Regions from separate parts of the Homo sapiens genome. Here all the other regions are linked to region 3. Evidence: promoter capture Hi-C in 16 types of primary human blood cells and fetal thymus (Javierre and others, 2016). All regions are on one chromosome and are shown on one strand. Each heading gives the region's core, a stretch centred on a gene start or on the middle of the fragment in contact. The rest is flanking DNA. Distances are from core to core; before and after follow the strand shown. Region 1 overlaps ACVR2B (activin A receptor type 2B). Region 2 overlaps OXSR1 (oxidative stress responsive kinase 1). Region 3 holds the start of GORASP1 (golgi reassembly stacking protein 1). Region 4 has its middle 8.0 kb from the start of MYD88.

What was found. The method cuts DNA at HindIII sites, captures the fragments that hold promoters and counts their contacts. A CHiCAGO score of 5 or more calls a contact.
Region 1: a fragment that was not itself captured here is called in contact with the fragment with the promoter of GORASP1 in region 3 in 1 of 17 cell types (monocytes); the score reaches 6.5 in monocytes.
Region 2: a fragment that was not itself captured here is called in contact with the fragment with the promoter of GORASP1 in region 3 in 1 of 17 cell types (activated CD4 T cells); the score reaches 5.2 in activated CD4 T cells.
Region 4: a contact is called between a fragment that was not itself captured here and the fragment with the promoter of GORASP1 in region 3, in 1 of 17 cell types (total B cells). The highest score is 7.3, in total B cells.

The regions. Positions count from the first base shown.
Region 1 is chr3:38,490,279-38,492,978 of GRCh38, forward strand. ACVR2B (activin A receptor type 2B) reads left to right here. Exons shown (of 11, transcript NM_001106.4): 11 at 1-2,700. Among named protein-coding and RNA genes, the nearest start is that of EXOG, 4.7 kb to the right of the region's middle. The HindIII fragment of the contact is 2,092 bases long and covers 303-2,394 here.
Region 2 is chr3:38,171,347-38,174,046 of GRCh38, forward strand. All of the region lies in intron 1 of OXSR1 (oxidative stress responsive kinase 1), which reads left to right. Among named protein-coding and RNA genes, the nearest start is that of OXSR1, 7.2 kb to the left of the region's middle. The HindIII fragment of the contact is 986 bases long and covers 830-1,815 here.
Region 3 is chr3:39,106,232-39,108,931 of GRCh38, forward strand. GORASP1 (golgi reassembly stacking protein 1) reads right to left here and starts at 1,396. Exons shown (of 9, transcript NM_031899.4): 1 at 1,248-1,396. The coding sequence starts at 1,310. TTC21A (tetratricopeptide repeat domain 21A) reads left to right here and starts at 1,449. Exons shown (of 29, transcript NM_001366900.1): 1 at 1,449-1,633. The coding sequence starts at 1,607. RefSeq lists a silencer at 1,026-1,345. The HindIII fragment of the contact is 2,080 bases long and covers 359-2,438 here.
Region 4 is chr3:38,145,284-38,147,983 of GRCh38, forward strand. No RefSeq gene overlaps it. Among named protein-coding and RNA genes, the nearest start is that of MYD88, 8.0 kb to the left of the region's middle. The HindIII fragment of the contact is 5,277 bases long and covers 1-2,700 here.

The DNA.
Region 1 (2,700 bases), core at 99-2,598, 620 kb before region 3:
GGCTGCTGCTTCTAGACAGAGGTGCACTGGACGGGATAGTTTTATCAAGAGAATCCCTAATGTGTCATTTTAAACCAGCTGTGCTTTTTATTCATTCTGGTTGAGCGTATAGGTTTACACTTTACCCTTTTTATACTTGGAATAAATTTAGTTCCAGCAGATCTAGTAGCACTCCAGAAACCAACCCCATCTGTTCCCCATAAAAAGAACATTTTCTCTGCTCTCCAGCCACGTGTCTTGGAATGTAATTCTGTTGTGCCTTTGTTTTTATCACTCTCTTCGCCCCAAAAGCAACTGCTGTAAGCTTTTTTCTACTTGTCTTTTCTAGTCCCCAACCTCTACCTTTTTCCTTTTTCCCAGCCCTAATTTCTGGATGCACTTCTGTGATCCAGGTATTTTAAGAACCAGTTACCTCAGACCTCATGTTGAACAGTGTCGCCATCTGGGTCCTCTTGATACTGCAGACTTTTAACGTACACATGCAGGAACCCTGCTGAGCGTGGGCACTTGTTTTAAAGCAAAACTCTTCCCAAGGACTGAAGAAAGGGCTTCTGGCAAGCTCGTCATGGCATTGTGGTGGGATGGGTCTAGAGTGTCATCTGAATGGTGCTTCCTGTGTTCCTCTTTGAATTCTGCCATTTTCAGTATTCTTGTGTGTCTGAATAGGCAAAGCGATTTAATTGGCTGGTCTTGCACGCAAATTAGTTCCAAAGATAAGCTCTTTGTAACACATTTCCAGTCGCTAATGCTCAAATGTAGAACATTCCTTTAAATGGCAGGATAAAAAACCCACTATCCACCATAGTGCATTTTGGGAAGATGTCTGTAGCATATGTTGCTGTGAAATTAGGCCTTGTGGGATATGGCTGTTTGTCATTTTGATGTATTTTAAATAAATATATATATTTTTTAAAGAGCCTTTTTTACCAGTTCAAAAAGTTTAATTAACCAGCAGTCACCGCATCTGAATTTTTGTCTCTGGGGCATAGATGGCAGACCAAGATTAAAAGTGGTAACTCAGCTATACGAGCATGGGCTACCTTCCTGGGCTCTCCTGCAGTCCTGTAGACCTGCTGTTCCGCAGACCATGGGACACAAGGTCAGTGTGTTCCCAGTGAGGGTCCCAAGTCAGTCATCTTAAGTGTTTGTTCTCTGCCCCATTCAGTGGACTGTTGACTTCAGTCCCTGCAAGTGCTTTAGCCCGAGTGGGGTTTTCTCAGAGCACTGCCACGAGTTAAGTGTGTGTTTAGCCAAATAATTTCTCCGTAAGGGAAAAATGCAGTCACCCAAATTTTACCAACAATGACAGAGATGAGAGTAGAAAAGATTAGGCAACATCTGAGTTTTAACTTGAAAAGTGTCCAAGTCATCATGAAAGGCCGACTGGGAGCAAGTGATTATTAGAGATTCTTCAGGAGACCTCATCTGAAAATGTTAAGACTGCCAGTGAGGGAAGGAATTGTTAAAATGCCAGCGGCTTTTTTTTCCTCTTTTTTTCTGTAATTCTGTAAAAATGCAGAGAAAGTTGAGTGGTACTTCAGAATTGAGGGAGAGGGTTACCGCAGAGTAGAAATATATTTCTAGATTTCAGTTCCACACCACAAATCCACAACAATGCCATTTTTCAACTGTACAAAAATCTGCTTATGAACTGGACATGATCTTAATGGTAGTGTCAAAGGCCAAGTTTTTCACCTGTTAATATTTTTCCACATTTGTCCTTGAATCTGAATAACTTTATACAGTACTGTAAATTTAACTTACATCGAGTTTGTTGTCAATTCTTATGAAAAGAGCTTTCTGCATGTAACACATACGGTTAAAGAACACAGCAAAGGACAAAATTTGCAGGAACAGTTTTGGAACCAACAGAAAATGTCACCTTTTATTTGCCATCTTATATATATCTATCAGTTTTACCAGCTACTTCTAAATTTGTACATTATTTGTAAGGGAAAGAAGGAAAACCCTAAGACTTGTCTAACTTAGTGGAGAATGTGTGTGTTGGGCTTAGGATGGATAGCTAAGTCTTATTGAGCTGTGTTACCTAACTTGTATATAAAAATTGTAATTAAAAGTTTGGGTTCACCTGTTTCTCACAGTTTAAAATGATGAGTAATTGCAAACTCTGGAAATGTGACTAGTATATGATTTAAGGCTGTAGAAGCAAGGAAGCTCTTTCAAGTGCTAAAACTAAAGACTTCTAGTTTTTGGCTCAAATAAGTACTGTTTGTATACCAGGATATGTGAGATGTAAATGTAGTAGGTCACTTTTCACCCTTGTAGCTATAAAATAAAAATTTTGTAGAACAGAAATAGCTTGTACTACTGAATTAACAAAAGTTATACTAAAGTATCATGTTTAAAAAAAATATATATATATATACAGAGTTAAGCTTGTTGCTGTTACCCTGTCTGGATTTGAAAAGTGTGCTGATTTATATATATATATTACACACACACACACACACACACACACACACACACACACACACACACACACACACACACACACACACACACACATACACCTAAAATGGCCTAAAGCAGACATCCATGTAATTACAGTTGCAAAATGAAAACATTTTGGAAAGAACATTGTATCATAGTTCATTCATTTGCAGTGGATCTTTGTTCCTTTTTACTGTGGTAATTTTAGAAATGAGTGTCAAGTTTGAAATTAGATCTGCTAAGTTGGGG
Region 2 (2,700 bases), core at 73-2,572, 930 kb before region 3:
CACTCAACTTTTTCAGGAAACACATGATTAAAATCTAGAAAAAAGGGTTTGGGATCATTTAAATTTTGTTTTCAAAGGATTGTATTCTAGAGAAATCAGTGTAATGGTGTCATCTCCATCAAAACACGTACATTTATTTGAACTGTAACATGTTTATTTGAACTGTAATTTTTTTCACATTTGCTTCTCAGCAGTATACTATTTATGGGATTGTTTCTCACATTCTGTTTTGTTCTTCGTCTTTCTGGTAAAATCCTACAGAGAACAGAATCTCCTCTTAGGAACATATTAAAAGCCTATAGATTGAAAATTCAAAGGACTTTTTTTTTTTTTTAAAGAATTGTATCACCTTAAGCATGCTTTGGCAAGATTTGAAGTTCTTTAAGTATGATTATGTGTAAAAGATGTTAGTATCATTCTCACAATTAATCATTGATCTTTCAGTATTTTTGAGCCCTTAGTCTTAGATTAGAATTTCTGAGCATGTGTTATACTGTATTTGGCATGTGTTGAAGCAGCTGTAAAAATTTGGGCTTTGGGGTTAGACTGACCCAGATTCAAATCCTGACATTGCCTCTTACTAGTTATGTGATCTTAGACAAATTATATGATTAGTTTCCGTGTCAGCTTTTTGTCTGTATAGTGGGGAGAATAGTACCTATGTCACTGGGGCCGTTATATAGATTGAGTGTAATTATTTGTGGGAAGTGTTTAGCTTGTATAAAATGATAGTTGTTATTATCTCTGACTTTTTTTTACCCTTCCCCTTGTCCTCATATTTCCCAATTTTTGGTATTGCCATGAAATATGAAATACTATGTGATGTGAAAGCTTGTGACACTTAAAATAGTTTGAATCTGTTTTTAATGCTTAGTGGAACATTATTGCATTTATTTTATTTTCGCATCTTTTTTTTTCTTAGTCCAGGCCTCATTCAGGTTTAGATGGATTTAGGGATTTATGTTGGACATCGTAGTATAACTGTAAGGACCATCACCATGATATTGCTAATAATACAATATGATGGCAGAGAGGGCTGTGCCAGTTAGGTTTTATTGCCCTGCATCTTGAAAAGTCTCAATAAGTATTTACTATTTACCTCAGACTAGAAAATTGAAAACTTAATACTAGGTTTAAGGTGTGATTCACCTAGCTTTGACACTTTGAAGGCAGTGCAATATATTTCTATTCTTGACTTTCCCTTCTTTTTATTTTCATTGATTGTTTACTAGCCACACATTTTGAGTTTAAAGTTGTGGTTTTCAAATACAGATTCCAGGGCCTTACCTTTAGCGCCTCCATAAATGTGAAGGACTTCGTGCTTTCAATAGAGTGGTGCTTAATAGTGTATTTTTCCATTGATTGGGAGACTCAGCTAAGGTGACATTTTCTATGAGGCCAGCATTGGGCCAACAACCTCATAGTGTTGTATCAAATAAGGCTTACATTTCTCTGCATGTGGGGAAAATGGAAATAATAGTGGCTTAATAAAATCCTTTTTCCCCCTTATATAACAAGAAGACTGGAGGTGGCAGCCTAGGTGCTGTCAGGCACCCAGGCTCCTAGTTTTTTCATGCGACCACACTTAGCAGGTGACTCTCCTTCTCATAGTTGGAAGATGGTTGTTCCACCTCTAGACTCATGCTTGTGTTCTTGTCCAGAAGAATATGGCAAAAGGACAAAGACACATGACAGCTGAGTTGGTTCTCTTTTAAAAGGCTTTCTTTCCTAGATGCCTTACTCAGTGACTTCCACTTCTATTTTACTGGCCAGAACTGTATAATTTGGTCATTTGCAAGGCAGACTGCAAAATGAAGCTTTAGCTGGACACATTATTACTTCAAACAAAATAGGTCAGGATTATCTTACTAAAGAAGGGGAAATTGTATGTTTGCTAAGCAACTAAGAATATTGGCCTCATTTTTTTTTAAAATGAAAATAGTCAAATAGGGTATTGCAAGTAAATAATTTAACCTGATGCATAGTAATCAGTTAATAAATGTTAGCTTTAATCTGAAGAGGTAGTTGCCTACTGATTAAGAGCATAATGTTGAAACTCAGGTAGTTCTTATTTCTAGGCCCTACTCTGCCTAACTAACTGTATGACCTAAGTTTTACCTTAATTACATTGCTTTACTTACATTGTCTTGTAAGACCATGAATACCTATCACATGGAATTATTGTAATGATTAGATGAAAAGAAGAAATGTAAGTAAAGAAAGTGCTCAGCATAGACTTGGCACACAGAATGGATGCTCAGTGAATGTTAATGTACATGATGGTAACGATGAAATAACACCCATGAAGACTGGGCTATTTCTGTGTGTGTTCTGCCCCAAACAAGATTTTTTTTCCTTGAAAATATACCCCACTATGTGATTAATTCATTCAGCAAATATTTCTTGAACTCCTGTTATGTGCCAGGCACTGTTCTGGATGCTGGAGATAAAACAATGAAGCAAACACAAAAAATGCCTGCTTTCACAGAGTTTATAATCTAGAAACTCTAAAGAAGAAAAAGCAGGGAAAGGGGTTAGGGACTGCTAGGGGTGGAGGTGGGGTTTCAGTTTTAGGTCAGGGAAAACCTCACTGAGAAGATGACAGTTGAGGAAAGACCTGAAGAAGGTGAAGAAGTGAATGATGTGGTTATCTGCAGGAAGTTTGTTCCAAGCAGAGGACAACAAGAACAAAGGTTCTGA
Region 3 (2,700 bases), core at 146-2,645:
AAAACTTTGTTTTTGTGACTGACAACCTCTGATCCCTGGTCCCTCTCCAATTTGTCCCTCTCCATCAGGCAGGCCCCTCCCGTCTTCGAAGCTCCCATCATCGCCCCACCCCTCCTCTTGCCAATATCCTGAGTTCCTTTGCCTTTAATCAAACCTGTTGGAAGACGCTCCTGGCTGGATGCATTCCACTGTCCACGCTTGCTGTTTGGTGTCTCACCATAAGAAAGCCCATTCCCAAGCACAAATCCTGTCAACTCTGGGTTCTCCAAGCCAGCCTGGTTTTCACGTTAAGAAACTTTTAGCCCTCTCATGTGGTTAGCTGGCAACAGACCCTACCTTCAAAACACACAAACCGACAAGCTTGCCTGTCTCCACTCATCTCTGCATCCAGCTGCCTTTCACTAGGGAAAGGGGGGGTGCAGGGACGCCTCTTCCCCGCAGCGCTCCGGGGTCAGAGACCCCCAGCCCCTCTCACCTACATTATAGCCCTTCCCTCACCGCAGGCACAAATCTCCATCCGGCTGCGGGACCCTCTCCTCACCCTCACAGCACACTCCGTTCTAGGAACCCCACTCCGTCTCCACTCTCCGGAAGCCTGCTCGCCCAGACCTCCATGTAGCGGCATCTAAAGGCTGGGACCCTCCCCAGCTGCAAACGCTCTCCTCGAGGATTCTGCAGCACTCTCCCGGCCCTCCCGCTCCCCACTATCCCGTGGCTGGTTTGCACCGGTCCTCTACCCTCGGAAGCCCTTACGACCCTACGACTGGCAGGACGCGCGCCGACGGGCTCCCCCGCAGCTGCGTCCACTCGGTTAACCCCGGCCCCCGGGACTGTCCTCGGCGTGGCTGACTCTCTTCCCAGGCCCAGCACGGAGAGCGGCCCGCGGCAGGCGAGCGTAAATGTGTGCTAAGTGCACGAGTGCGTCCCGACTGGTAGTGGTGCATTCTTCACCCGGGAGGAGCGCCATTCCCGGCGGCCGGACCAGGAAAACGCTCCGCTTCCGGCACTGCTGGCACTTGGGGCGGGCGCTGGGCCCGACCGCGGCCGCGGACTAGCCAGGGTCCGGGAGTCCCGCGAGGCCGCCTCTCCCAGGAGGCTCCCACCGGGCAGGGGGCACCTCCCGCCACCCAGGCGGAAACACTCGGGCCGGGACCCCGCCGCAGTCGCCAGCCAGCCGGCGACCGGACGCCCGGGCGCGGGGTTGCGGGCGCCTCGCCAAGGTCACCGGCGCCGCGGCGGCAACTCACCCCGTGGAGGTGGAAGCCCTCGGCGCCGCCTGCGGGCTGCTCAGCGCTGACGCCCAGGCCCATGGCAGCGGCTCCGCTCGGCACCCAGGTCCAGTCCCGCTGCGCCTACCCGGACCGACCCGACGCCAGTAGCACCGACTCGCTCTCTCGGCGCTCGATTCCTGCGCCTTGTGACGTGAGGCGTTTTGTTCCTCCCACTCCAGACACTGGACGCTCCTAGCAACCGGCTAGCAGCTCGGTTTCCAAGGACTGTAACGCCTTCAACCGCCCGCCGCGATAGAGTGCCCACGACCCTGCCTCGGGAATCCCGCTCTGCACCGCCCCACCAGACCCGGACTCGGAGCCGCGAGCGGCCCGAGATGAGCAGCAATGACTCCTCCCTTATGGTGCGTGGCCCGGGCGCTGTCCGAGGGCTCCCTCGTGACTCCCCGCCCCTGACCCAGAGACCGTCTGCCCTGCTACTCTCCTGCCACCCTTCGCTGTCCTCAGTTATATCAGGCGGTCCTGCCTTTTCTTGCCCCACTCCCCCTGGCAAGGGCGTCTTCTCCGGTGGCTTCTGCGCACCCTGAGCCCCAAATTAGCATCCCCGTTTCTTGAGCTACCCCAAACCAGCTCATCCAATCACTATCATTATCCCTTCTTGTCATCATCCCTTCTTCCACCCAGCTCACTCTCGCCTGCGCCTCCCACCCCAGTTGATGGCTTCACCATTTAATCTCCTAGCCTTAACTCATACCTCTTCCCTATACTCATCTTCTAATCCTGTCTACAAGAAATGCCAGCTCCTTGATGTCTCCTGGGTTTTCTTTTTATCTTTTTATCTTCTAGCCCAGAACCAGCACCATCTCTCCCCCCTGAGAGCCTGCAACAGCCTCCCTCCCATCTGGTTTCTCTGCTGTGGCTCTTTTCAGCATCAGTAGTCCCTGCTGCCACCACGGCACACACCCCCCACATGCAAAAGCAGCCAGAGTGGTTGTTGCAAAAATGTACATCTGAAAACATCCCTCGCCTTAAAACCATTCTGCTTTCTGTTACCCTTAGGATGGTGTCTGGGCTCTTTCATATGGCCCATGAGGATGTTTACAGTCCAACCACATCTGCTCCCAACCTAGCACCCACAAACCTTAGAGGAAGTGAAACTTAACTTTAAAATCTCAGCCCCTTTGTCAAGCTGTAGTTTCCATGGGCTTAAGCTTCCTTAGCTGTGAAAGATACTGAGAGGACCATGCACAGGATAGTGGATATGAAGCCCACAATAACTTGTAACTACAATTCGTATAATTTTTCTTATTATTTGTCCTCATTTTTCCCCCCTTATTCCCTTCCTAAGACAAAGCCTTGGTTGAATTCCCCATCATAGTTGAACCAGAATCTGTTGGTAATCCCCCAAACAAACACCTCCAAACTCTTTCCTGGGAAAACTGCATGGAGCTGCTCCCAGGGCTGTTAGAGG
Region 4 (2,700 bases), core at 43-2,542, 960 kb before region 3:
GCTGGGCACAGCGGCTCATGCCTGTAATCCCAGCACTTTGGGAGGCTGAGGCGGGTGGATCATTTGAGGTCAGGAGTTCAAGACCAGCCTGGCACACATGGTGAAACCCTGTCTCTACAAAAAATACAAAAATTAGCCAGGCATGGTGGTGCATTCCTGTAATCCCAGCTACTTGGGTAGCTGAGGCAGGAGAATCGCTTGAACCCGGAAGGTTGAGGTTTCAGTGAGCTGAGATCATGCCATTGCGCTAACAGAGCAAGACTCTGTCTCAAAAAAAAAAAAAAATTCACACAGCAGAACACTGGGCTGGTAAGGGTGGAAGATGAGGGGCCGCACCATCAATTTAGGGGAACATTGTCCCCACTGGCTGCTATTTGCCAGATGATACAGAATAAATGTTTTAAATGCCCTTGGGGATGTCTGGTTCTGAGACAATATAGAGTAAAAACACTTCTCCTTATTCCCTCTGCTAAATACAGGCAAAACACCCTGGACATTATATAAAACACAAATATAAGGAGACTCTGAAAGGTGGAGAGAAGAAGATAGAATGGTTAGGGACCTCAGGACCTATGGAATGACATGGCACTAGCCTAGGGTTTTCTTTTTGCCTATGCCTAATGGATCTCAGACTGAGTATGGAGAAGGCAGAAACCTATAAACTAATGAGTACAGGTAAAGGAAAAAAAAGAAAAAAAAAAAAGGAAAACCTGCTTTTACTAGCCAAACGACCAGAAAGGGACAGTCTTGCAAGAAAGAAAGTTTGTAGACAATAACCACTCCAGCTAAACCATAGAAAAAATTGTAGTATTACCTACACCCTGCCAGCAAAGGCAAAATGGGGAATCTAAATTTCCACTCCCACCTTCTTGGGTGTCAGAGTGGGTCTAGTAGAGAGTCAAGACTTTCACCACTGCCCAGCAGTAATGTCCTCTATCATGTCAGTGGAGGCCAGATGGGGAGTAGTAACAAGGCATCCTTCTCCCTCCCAGCCAAGGTGGTATCAGGGGAGACTTAGTGGGCAGCCTGAACTCTCATCCTGACCCAGCAGTAACTAGGCACTCTCTCCCTTGTTCTCCCTCACCTCTACCCTGGGATGTCAATAGAGTAACCTGCACTTCTACCTCCACCAGACAGCATTGTTTTGATGTCAAAGAAGGCTAACTAAAACAGAAGATCCAAATGAGATCCAGCCTCATTACATAGCATCCAAAATGTCTAAGGTTGAAAATCAGTCATCATACCAAGAACTAGGGAAATCTCAACTTGAGCAAGAAAAGACAACCAACAGATGCTAACACCAAAATGACACAGATGTCAAAATTTTCTGACAAGAACTTTAAAGCAGCCAGTATAAAAATGCTTCAATAAGTAATTGTAAACATGCTTGAAACAAATTTTTTTAAGTTTCAGAAAAGAAATAGAAGATATAAACAATTAAATTGAAACGTTAGCACTGAAAAAAAAAAAAGAAAAAACTTACTGGATGGGTTCTGTTGTAAGATGTCGATAGCAAAGAATCAGTGAACTTGAAGACAAACCAATAGGAACCACCCAATCTGAACAAAAGACAGAAAATAGACTGGAAAAAAATTAAGTCTCAGGAATTTGTGGGACAACAAAAAAAGTCTAACATGTATGTCATCAGAGTCCCAAAAGGAGAGGAAAAATAAGTTGGAGCTAAAAGGGTATACAAATAAATATGGTTGAAAATTTGCCCAATATGGAAAAAAAAACAACCCATAAACCTATAGAGCTGATAAGGTGAGCAAACCCCAACCATTATAAACCCCAAGAAATCCACACCAAGGTACATCATAGTCTAACCTCTGAGAATTAAAGACAAAGAAACAAATATTGCAAGCAGCCAGAGAGAAATGATGCCTTACCAATAATGAACAAATTTTTGAATGGCAGCAGATTTCTTTCATTGGAAGCCACAGAGGTCAGAAGACATTGGCCCAACATTTTTCAAAGACTGAAAAAAAAAACTGTCAACTCAAAATTCTATATCCAGTTAAAATATTATTCAGGAATGAGGAGGAAATCAAGACATTCTCAGTTGAAGAAAAACTATGAGAATTTGTCAACAGCAGGCCTACCCTAAAAGAATAGCCGAAGGAAGTTTTTGAAACAGAAAGAAATACAAGAAAAAAATCTTGGAATACTAAGAAAGAAAAACAAGAGAAACAGTAAAAATATGAGTAAATTGAGTACGCTTTAATTTTCTTAAATTGTCAAAATTATATCTGATGGTTTAAGCAAAAGATTAGTTTAGTGGTCATGCGCAAGATAGATTACGGAAGTTGATAAGCACAGTGGTAATTTCTGCTTCAGGCAATTTCACAAACAAAAAAGAGAAATGAAATGACTACTGGCTGGGAGAAGAAACTCTGGGATCCCCACAATTTCCTCTTTCCTCAAAATATGTAATCCATCAGGTTACCTCCTCTCCTAAACACTCTATGCATTGTCTGATGTAGTTTTCAACTTATGTACAGGAAATATTTGGGACAGCTATAAATGAGGGAGAGTCAAGGCACTTAAAGCAAGGAAAGGTGTCTATACCTCACTGAAACTGATAAAATGTCAACACAAGTAGAACTGTGATAAGTTAACATATGTATAATGTTACACCTAGAGCACCTACTAAAAAATCTGTTCAAACAGATACTCTCAAACACTATAAATAAATCAAAA